Linked DNA regions of Homo sapiens: region 2 is linked to region 1. Evidence: promoter capture Hi-C in 16 types of primary human blood cells and fetal thymus (Javierre and others, 2016). All regions are on one chromosome and are shown on one strand. The core of a region is centred on a gene start or on the middle of the fragment in contact, and the rest is flanking DNA. Distances in the headings are between cores, read along the strand shown. Region 1 holds the start of ARL13A (ARF like GTPase 13A). Region 2 holds the start of XKRX (XK related X-linked).

Region 1 (5,658 bases), core at 2,597-5,096:
TTGAGTTAATACTGGGATGAGTTAAGACTTTGCAGGACTATTGAGTAGGGATGGTTGTATTTTGAAATGGGAGACGAACATAAGAATTGAGGGGGCAGGGCAGAATTATATGGTTTGGATATTCGTACACCCAAATCTCATGTTGAAATGTAATCCCTGGCTGGGCACAGTGGCTCACACCTGTAATCCCAGCACTTTGGGAGGCCAAGGTGGGCGGATCACCTGAGGTCAGGAGTTTGAGACCAGCCTGGCCAACATGGTGAAACCATGTCTCTACTAAAATATAAGAATTAGCTGGGCATGGTGGCAGGTGCCCGTAATCCCAGCTACTTGGGAGGCTGAGGCAGGAGAATTGCTTGAACCCAGGAGGCGGAGGTTTCAGTGACCTGAGATTACGCCACTGCACTCCAGCCTGGGTGACGAGAGTGAAACTCCGTTTCAAAAAAAAAAAGCAATGTAATCCCTAATGTTGGAAGTGGGCCTGCTGGGAGGCGTTTGGGTCATGGGGGTGGATCCCTCATGGTTTGTCCTCATGATAGTGAGTGAATTCTCCTAAGATCGGGTTGTTTAAAAGTGTGTGGCACGTCCCCCCAACTCTCTTGCTCTTGCTGTCACCATGTGATGTGCCTGCTCCAGCTTCACCTTTTGCCATGAGTAAAAGCTCCCTGAGGCCTCCCCAGAAGCCGAGCAGATGTTGGTGCCATGCTTCCTGTACAGCCACTAGAACTGAGAGCCAATTAAAACTCTTTTCAGCTCTCAGGTATTCCTTTATAGTAGTGTGAGAATGGCCTAATACAAGGTCTAATCAGAATTTAGCCTGTCTCAGTCACGTTTCCTGTCTCAGTCACATTTCCATTCACCTTCTTCAGTCAAAACTTTTCCTCCATACTTCTAAGCAGGTACCAAAGAAAATAACATGAATTCAGAGTCATCTATAAAATAAGAAAACAACTAAATCAAGATAGGGGAAAGGTACAGTAAATTATTCCTCTACCTAACACATTTCTGGGCATGACAGAAAAACAGCAGTATCAACTGGGTTACTTCCCTTGATGGCTAGCACAAGATCTCAGCTATAGACAGCTCCCCTTGGATGGCAAGTATGGAGAAAAGAAAGGGAAAACGCAACCTCCAGTTGGCCAAAAATCAATCTACATATTTAGAAAAGCCTTCAGCTGAGACCTTTCAAAGGACTGTAAAGTGCCTCATTCAGATAAAGATAAGTGTTCATATAGAGTATCATCCAAGCCTGGACACTTTTGTGCATGAAAGGAGGCACTATTAGTAATGATTCTGGGATGGAGGTTGGCAAATTTTTCCTAAAAATGGCCAGATAGTAAATATTTTAGGTTTTAGAAGACACATACGGTCTCTGTCATATATTCTTTTTCTTTTTAACCCTTTAAGAATGTAAAAACCATTCTAAGCCCAGACACCGTAAGAAAACAGGCCAGGAGGCCGGGCACGGTGGCTCACGCCTGTAATCTCAGCACTTTGGGAGGCCGACGGGGGCGGTCACCAGAGGTCAGGAGTTCAAGACCAGCCTGGTCAACATGGCAAAACCCCATTTCTACTAAAAATACAGAAAAATTAGCCAGGTGTGGTGGCACAAGCCTGTAATCCCAGCTACTCAGAAGGCTGAAGCAGGAGAATCGCTTGAACCCGGGAGGTGGAGGTTGCAGTGAGCCGAGATCGCACCATTGCACTTCAGCCTGGGCGACAAGAGCAAAACTTGGTCTTAAAAAAAAAAGAAAGAAAGAAAGAAAGAAAACAGGCTAGGATACAAGTTTGGCTATGGGCTTGGGGGAAAACACACATCAAGTCTGTTCTGGTCAAATAGATACATAAGTCACCCTAGCTGAAGGCCTGGTCTGTGATCCAATTCAAAATTTAGAATTAAGAGTAAGTATGTGGGCCGGATGCGGTGGCTAATACCTGTAATCCAAGCACTTGGGAGGCCAAGGTGGGTGGATCACCTGAGGTAGGAGTTCAAAACCAGCCTGGCCAACATGGTGAAACCCTATCTCTACTAAAAATACAATAATTAGCCGGGCATGGTGGTGTGCGCCTGTAGTCCCAGCTATTTGGGAGTCTGAGACAGTAGAATTGCTTGAACCTGGGAGGTAGAGGTTGCAGTGGTCTGAGATCGTGCCACTGCACTCCAGCCTGGGTGACAGAGCAAGACTCTGTCTCAAAATAAGAATAATAAAAATTTTTAAAAACCTACAATGATGAGAGTATGTCAGAGGGAGGAGTCAACTGAAAGAGCTCCCCAGGCCAAAGTTGGAACGACTTGAGCAAGAAAATAAAGAGGTATTGATTATAATCAGAGGATAAAATAAATATATGTGAGCCCATACTGTATAAATGAATGATTTAATAAACAAATGTGTAAGAATAGACAGACCCCCCCCCCATACAGAAGAATTCCAAACAACTTTTGTAGATACTCCACCTCAAGGAGGTGGAGGATAACTCCCCATTCTATAAGTATGGCCAATGCATACTGATTTCCTTCTAAAGAGTACAGGATAGAAAGTAGGGGGAGTATCTTTACAGTGGAGAAATCTGATAAACACTGCCTCGGCCAGGTGATCAAGGTTAACATCATCAGTGATAAGTCATGTTGACAGCATGTATCCTTGATATGATGTGATGAGGATGGCACGTTACCTCTGTGGCCTTCCTCCCAAGAACACATAACTTCAGTCTAATCATGAGAAAAACATCAGATAAACAACAAGTGAGGGGTATTCTACAAAATACCTGATGAACACTCCTGTCAAGGTCATCAAAGACAAATAGAGTGGCTGGATGTGGTATCTCATGCCTATAATTCCACCCCTTTGGGAGGCCACAGTGGGAGGATCACTTGAGGCCAGGCTTCAAGACCAGCCTGGGCAATATAGCAAGACCCTTCTCTAAAAAGAATAAAAAATAAATTAGCCAAGGATGGTGGTGCATGCCTGCAGTCCTAGGTACTTGGGAGGCTGAAGCAGGAGGATTGCTTGAGCCCAGGAGTTTGAGGCTGCAGTTAGCCATGATCACACTACTGCACTCCAGCCTGGGCCACAGAGCCAGACCTTGTCTCCAAAAAACAAAACAAAACAAAATCTGAGAAGCTTAAGTTAAAAACTAAGGAAATCTGAATGAAGTATGGACTTTAGTTAATAACAATGTATTAATACTGGTTCATTAATTGTAACAAATACAGCATCGTAAGATGTTAACAATGAGGGAAATTGGGTGTTAGGGATGGTTACTCACTGTACTGTCTTAGCAATTTTTCTGTATATCTAAAACCATTCTGAAAAATAAAGCATTTTATAAAAAGTTCACTAAGTATGATACAGTTTGGCTAGAAGAGATAGAGATACGCAGAGCAGAGGCAGTTTCTCTGGTATCTGAGGTCTGCAAGACCTTTGACCTAATACAGACCCTGAAGCCAGAATGCCTAGGTTTGAATTCTGGCTTTACCATTTATTAGCTAGGTAACCTTTGGCAAGTTATGTAACCCCTTTGTGAACAACTTCATCTCTGAAAAGTAGGAATGATAGCCCCTACTTTGTCATGCTGTAGTAAGGATTAAATGAATTAATGTGTATAAAGTGCTTTAATGAGCCCTGGCACAAAGTAAATTCTATATAAATATTTTGTAAAATGAATAAAAACTATGATGACTTAAAGTTCCTTTAGTAATTATCTATAATCATACAAGGTAAGGAGATATGAGTTTGGTTGCTATGAACCAGGTAGTGGTTGCCACAGACATGTCAGTACCGTGACAACCATTATTAGGACATTGCCATAGCTTTTATAAATGGACAACCTAAGCTGTGTTAATCTGACAAGAAGGCTAGAAAGCTCAATGCGTCTTCCTATTACTCTGCATATCTTATGTCTTCCATCCAAAAAGAATCAACTTATCAGATAAATAACCACCTCATGGTAAGCAAAATATGTCACTATCTTCATTTTACAGATAAGAAATTTGGAAATGGTAGGTTTAGTTGAGGTGATTTCACTTCAGGCTACCCAGAAGAGGCACTAGAAATAAAGGATCAGTCCAGCAATCCCTAATTCAATCATTTTCCCAGTTGGGTTTTCATACCTACCCTTCCTTATAAAGGAAGAACTTGTGTGATGCCAATTTGACACTTCTTGGTGGCACTGACAAACACAGAGAGCCTGACATCAAGTTAGAAGGCTCTGCCAATTATTAGGAAACAGACATGAAGCGGTTACTGGCCTCTTCTCCAAGGGAGATGGCTATCAAGGAACCCAGACAATTAGGCTCTGATGTTTCAGGCTCCTGGTCATATCAGCTTCATGTGCAAAACTGGAGTAAGGCTGGTTTTGATCACAGGCCATATATAAAGTTTCTTTTTTGTCTGGCATAAGCCAGAGCCATTCTCCAGGAGGTCCTTATGGGAAACCTAATGATCTCCTAGGGTCTGAGCTGTGCTATAAGAAATGCTATGAAATGTTAGTATTTTGGAATGGCAACTCTCCAGAACAGTAAATGACTGGATGACTCTGCAGAACCCTGATAAATTATCCATTGATAAGCTGGCACATAAACTGTGCTCATCAGATAGCTAAGCAAAGCCCATCGAAGCATTAACTGAAGTACTTTGCTAACCCAACCAGGGCTTCCTCCAATTTTGGGCTTCAACATACAGTCGTCCCTCAGTAAACTCGGGGGAAATGGGTTCCTGAACCCCCTCATATACCAAAATCTGTGCATTCTCAAATCCTGCAGTTGGCACTGCGAAACCCATGTATATGAAAAGTTAGCCCTGCATATACGTGGGTTTCACATTCACAAATATCCTCATTTGGTTGAAAAAAAAAAAGCCTGGTATAAGTAGACTCATGCAGTTCAAACCCATGTTGTTCAAGGGTCAACCATAATTAGTCATTAGGAAAATGTAAATTGAAACCACAATGAAATACCTACCTCACACCCACTAGGATAGCTGTAAACAAAAAACAAGCATTACTGGTGGGAATGTAAGATGTTGTAGCCACTTTGCAAAACAGTCTGGCAGTTCTTCAAGAGGTTAAATATAGATTTATTATATAACCCAGCAGTAATACTCCTAGGTATATACCCAAGAGAAAAGAAAACATATCCACACAAAAACTTATATACAAATGTTTATAGCAGCATTATTCATAACAGCCAAAAAGTAGAAACAATCCACTTTCCAAGGATGAACCTTGAAGTGATTGCCTAAATTATCCTTTTTACTTAGGCATTCACTTCCAAATCCAGCTGCGCATTGACATCACCTGGGAAGCTTATGCAGCTCCCTGGCAATCTTTGAGGATGGGATACCTGGATTAATGTTTGAATCCAGACTAGACGATCTCTAAGGTCCCTGATAGCCCCAAAACTTGTATAAAATCTCTAATAGTGGGTCACCAATGCCCACATCTTTGAAGAAGAGACATTATTGGTACTTGGAACAGGTCTCCCGATAGGTCCGTCTAGAAGCCTAAGTTGGTTCTTCTCTTAGGCATCATCCCAACCTCCGCAAGGTTGAATAAACATATTCTTAACAAGGATGAACTATGGCTGAAGGGATAGGTCACATCTGATTATGTCTGTGTAGTCTGCTATACTAAGAAATCACCCCATTTTGAAGAAAGTTA
Region 2 (5,562 bases), core at 2,806-5,305, 41 kb before region 1:
ATGCTCTCTAGCCTTTAGTTCCTGATAGGAAAATTTGGAACATATGCTGGCTGCCAGTCTCCATAGATCACCCTAAGACTGATGCATGTGTACCACTCTGAAGCATGTAGTTTGAAATTGTCACCTTCTAGGGACAAACTCTAAGACCTGGGAAAGAAAAAGATGCAAAGAAAGAACAGAGAAGAAAAAGCAACACTTTTTTCCTATTCTTGTTCTGCATAAGTGCATTTTCAATGAAAAATTTTAGATTTTAACCCCAACCCATCAGTACTATTGCTAAATTGGAGAACAGTATTGGAGAAGGTGGTGGCATGAAATGTTCCGTTTACATTTACATAAATGTTCTGTTTCTATTCTCAGGGCTATTTTCTGGTTTAAGTAAGGGTGTTTGTCCATTTATAAGCTTCAATAAATTAGAGTACATTTTCATTTCGGAAGTATGCTTGCATTTCATGTAAGGCACCCAGACTCTACAAGCACCTTCATGTGCCTGATAACACTAATCAAGTTCCTACCTATCTAACAAGTAATTGGCCTTGAAAATAAGCGAATCCAGAGTATAATTTATGAGTTTTTATCTTTTCTCTGCTGTGGGCTAAGCTGCCTGAGGTTATAAATGCTTCCCAATCATTTCTAGTGGAAGCTAAACAACAAAAATGAAAAACAGTACTCAACACTCTACACAGAGGGTTCACAAAGCAAACAAAGGAAGTCAAAAAGAGGGGAGGGTGCAGCTGGGTACTTTCTGAAATTTGTATCTTGAGAGTTTTCGATTGGTTAACTCAATATATTGTATTTGAAAAAGGAGGGATGAATGGTTTATTTGCTCCTGTAGTCACAACTTTAAATTTCTTGGTTTCAAGGTCAAGATGAGGTCTTCCTTTTACAGCTTAACTTCAAAGATTTAGAACCGTAAAGGACCTTTACATCACCCAGTCCAAAGATGCATATAGGCCAGCTGAGTTATATCTGACCAACAGATATGGTTTGGTCCATCCTGTGTTGTTGTTGTTATTGTTTTAGTCAGCTGTGAAAATTTAAAATCATGACATTTCATATAAAAATCCTGTCTTGGGAGCATCTCCCGAAAAGTTAGTGGATCTGGCAATACTGGGTCTGAATTCCAACATGGAAACAATGCGCCAGGGCTCTAGAGGGGCTACCTCCTTCAGGCAGGTCATGAAGATTTCAGATTACCATGGTACTCACTACTCCTCAGTATTTCTCTGAGACTTTGTTTTCATTTATCATCTCACACAAGGCTACTGTTTTTTCTTATACTAGGCCTGCTTCATTCATTTATGATACCTGCCTGGTCCCTGCAAGTGTTTGAGTTTGAGACCCATGATTTAGACTAACCCATTTGCTTTACAGATGAGGGAACTCTATATGCCTTCCTGTGAAGCCATCTTCAGAGATTTTACCAAGAACACACAACCAGTCAATGACAGGGGGAAGACTAGACTCCAAATTTCAGGCCACTGTTTCCATTGATATCCCATATTCTCTCTGATAGAGCCTAATCGATTCCTCCCCACTTAAAAATTTATTGATAAAAAATTTTTTTGGCCTTATTGAGGTATAAGTGACAAATAAAAATTATACATGTGTACAGATATGAAATTTTATAAAGGAGTGAGTTCCATCCTTAATTAGTTTCACAGACTTTTTAGTTGTCTAATGATGAGGTATCTTCCCATTGCAACACTCTGACCCATATTCCTCGGCTGACTGCAGTTGTCTGCCTCTCTTGCAATCAAGACAAACTTGGTCCATTCCTTACTCCTGAACTCATAAGTTTTGCAACATCTCTCTACCTTGAAAACCCCATAGCATCCAGATGAGACTGTTGACACAGGTGCCTATCTCGCTAGGATTAAGTGCATTCTTTCCACTTCAAGGCAATCTGAATGGAAATACTTGATACTATTAAATTGTGCTACTGCATCCACATAGAGAGATGAACTGCCTTCCTTTGCCCCCTCCCAACTTCGTATCTTTATTGCAGAAATATACAAAGAGATAAATAGGAAACTGATAAACCGACAGAGAACTGAACTATATTGGGTTGGGGTACAGATTACCACAGATGGTTTAAAATAGTTTCCAGATGTCACATTACTCTGGAAAATTTGAAAATGGCAGTAGCACCAGCCCAAGCAGCTCAGGGTAAAGAAACTTTTATCCAATTTACAAAGCATCCAAAAGGTAGAGTCAAAATTACACACTCAGACCAGGCGCGGTGGCTCACTTTGGGAGGCTGAGGCAGGAAGATCACTTGAGCCCAGTCTACATAACGAGATCCCGTCTCTACAAAAAAAATTTTTTTTTTTTTGAGATGGAGTCTCACTCTATCGCCCAGGCTGGAGTGCAGTGGCACCGATCTTGGCTCACTGCAACCTCTACCTTCCGGGTTCAAGTGATTCTCCTGCCTCAGCCACCAGAGTAGCTGGGATTACAGATATGCGCCACCACACCCAGCTGATTTTTAGTAGAGACAGGGGTTTCACCATGTTGGCCAGCTGGTCTTGAACTCCTGACCTCAGGTGATCCACCCGCCTCAGCCTCCCAAAGTGCTGGGATTACAGGCATGAGCCACCACACCCGGCCTATAAAAATTTTTTTTTAATTAACCAGGCATGGTGACACATTCCTTTGGTCCCAGCTACTTGGAGGCTGAGGTGGGAGGTTCGCTTGATCCCAGGAGATCAAGGCTGCAGTGAGCCATGATCGCACCACTGCACTGTAGCCTGGGAGGCAGAGCAAGACCTTGTCTCAGAAAAAAAAAATTTTTTAAATAAAATTACACACTCTGCAGCTATGGCCTTCATGCACAGGGTGATCACGTCTTGTTGTTCCCATTCTAGTTTACACAGGCCAAATAGCATCGTTCATTGTTTTGGAACACAAGTACATACCACATGTTCATCATGGTGGCATTTAAGATTTCAGGTAAGTTTTCTGAATGGTAGACAGGGAAGCCGAGAGTGGGAGGAAATGAGAGAATTGATTAGAGCCATAGTATCCATCTTGTAAATCTTTCATCTTTCTCTGCCCAAGTCTGGGGTGGGGTTAGGGGGGTAAGGAAAAGATTTAAAAGTTGCTCACCTGATAACAGGTCCCAAGAGGATTAGATGCATAAATAATGATAGCGGTTTATCTTTGGCTAGATCTCTGTGGACAAAAATGAGGGTCAACTGGACCATAATGGATGAAAACATAAAGAAAGAAAAGGTGTATGTCATCCAGTAAGTTTCACTATTCTTTCGATAGATTCTAACCATGTACAAAGCAGATGCAGCCTCCCCACAGTACAAAAAGGTGGAGAAAAGGATGCTAAATGGAAAAGTAAATCGGGGGTTGGCTCCACGGATGACATCTTCCTCCAGAGATGAAACCGGATCCACATTTGGCTCCTCAGGAATTTCATAAACTCTGTCCATTGTCGAGGTTCTTTCTGAATGTTGTGGTCTTGTGTTCATAGCACCCTCCCACCCATCCCCAAGAGAACCCTATGGCCGCTACAGTCCAAGTATAGGTGAGGAGAGCTCTGTCAAGTCCAGTTTGGGAACAGAGATTCACTAGTTAGAGCAAGAAACCGCTCTCTTCTAGACTCAGATTCGACTTGGAGTCTGGGATGGAAAGCCCAGGAGTACCACTTTGAACTTGACTCTTGATTGGCCCCGATTCCAATCGTCAACATACTTGCTGTGAAACTTGAACAAGACAAAAGCAAGCATCCCAGCGCCCCATCCAGAGTCCAACTCCAGGGACGTGAAGAGTCATGAGAACAGCGGCTTCCGTGGCGGCTCCTTTCGCAGCCCCTCAGGCAGGGTGTAGCCGATCTGTCGGGGGCACCGACACTCAGCAGCTCCTCACAAAGAGTCCTGACCAGTGTGTCCTCTCAAGTCAGCGGAGAGCTGAGCCAGGGCAGAAGAGCGGGCGCAGAAGAAGGAGGGCAGAAGAGGGGATTCAGTTCAGTGCCTAGGTATCCTAGCTATTGCTAGGCTGTAGCTATCAGCTGGCCCGCTCACCTGCGCGCTCTCAGGACCTTTGCCGAGTCCAGGGTTCTCAGGATAGCTCCTCGGATTCCCCCAAGCCCCGCCCCCAAGACCGCCTGGCCCGGGAGTGGAGTATTGTCACCACCCTGTCTCCGAATGCAGTGTTGAGGGACAGAAGCAGAGCGCGCTCGCTCTACAGGATGAAGAAAAGGCTGGAGGGGCTGCTTCTCCTCGGAGAAACTTTGCTAGTGAGAGGCACGATGTGCGGGGCGCCAACCTGGCTGGACGGAGGTCGCCAAACTCTTGGACGCCGTCTGCTGCCAGGGTCCTGCCTGGTCTGCGATTCCAGCTGCGAGAGGTCGGCAGCTTCAAAAACTAAGGCACCGGGACGGCGGGGGCGGGCGAGATGGGCGGGACGGCTGCGGCCAAACAAAACCAGCCGGAGAGTTCCCGGGCAGGCGGCCAGCCGAGGGATGCTCGTTGTGGAGTGGCGGGACAAAAAGGGGCTTGGGCCGCTCTTCAGAAGCACTTCTGACCACCACCTCCAGACCCAGGCAGGAGCCACAGCTTTACTCCTCCCTAGGAGCAGCAGGCCCCCACTTCTACCCCGCCCTCCCTAACTAGTTAAGTGACTTGCTTCAACACTCACTCTACCCACGCTGTTAGGCAGGTGTGTCTCCCTCCGCCGCAGGGTGGAACCTCCCTAGGTCCTATTGCCCTCCAGATAATATCATGAAGGGGGAACCTGGGAGGAATAGGGTCAGAGTTTTCGGCGGAGGGAAGATAGAACAGGATAAAGGTCAAGACTCAAGGTCAGCCCACAGACACTGAAAGCTCATATTTTATGCCTTGATTTCTCCACTTGCAAAATGAGGCCAGGATAGGAGCTTTAGAATGAACTTACAGGTCTTTGGTTGAAAGGTTATGAAGAGGTGCCAAATTCTAAACAGACTGGCAAAGAGCCAAGAGAGAGCTGTTAGTAAAAACTGAGAGGGGTGTCTTAAAGAGCTTTGAAAATTACCTGTATTCTTAAGTGTAATCCTCCCCACCTCACTGAGCTTTTGTTTTCATATCTTCATTTGCATAATTCTAAACCTCAGAGAAAAAGAGAACACATCTGCCTCCTGGTAATAATATAGATGAAGGCCAGGCACAGTGGTTCACGCCTGTAATCCCAGCACTTTGGGAGGCTGAGGCAGGCAGATCACTTGAGGTCAGGAGTTCGAAACCAGCCTGGCCAACGTGGTGAAACCCCATCTCTACTAAAAATACAAAAATCAGCTGGTCGTGGTGGTGCGTGACTGTAATCCCAGCTACTCAGGAGGCTGAGGCAGGAGAAAAACTTGAACCCGGACGGCAGAGGTTGCAGTGAGCTGAGATCACGCCACTGCACTCCAGCCTGGGCAACAGAGCAAGATTACGTCTTAATAATAATAATAATAATAATAATAATAATAATAATAATGATGATTATGTAGCAGAGCCTGTGCCAATCTCCTTTTGCTGCAGGAAGTCAGTAAAACAAATCTATGTGAGGAGTGGCCAAGTAGCAGCCACCAAA

Evidence for each region. Contacts are between HindIII fragments. The CHiCAGO score rates a contact against its expected background, and 5 or more counts as called.
Region 2: the fragment with the promoter of XKRX here is called in contact with the fragment with the promoter of ARL13A in region 1 in 12 of 17 cell types (neutrophils, naive CD8 T cells, fetal thymus and 9 more); the score reaches 10.9 in neutrophils.

Annotation. Positions count from the first base shown.
Region 1 is chrX:100,965,862-100,971,519 of GRCh38, forward strand. ARL13A (ARF like GTPase 13A) reads left to right here and starts at 3,847. Exons shown (of 8, transcript NM_001162491.2): 1 at 3,847-3,948. The HindIII fragment of the contact is 2,181 bases long and covers 3,121-5,301 here.
Region 2 is chrX:100,924,862-100,930,423 of GRCh38, forward strand. It overlaps XKRX (XK related X-linked), which reads right to left and starts at 4,056. Exons shown (of 3, transcript NM_212559.3): 1 at 3,109-4,056. The coding sequence starts at 3,443. RefSeq lists enhancers at 2,260-3,459, 4,653-4,702. The HindIII fragment of the contact is 22,335 bases long and covers 402-5,562 here.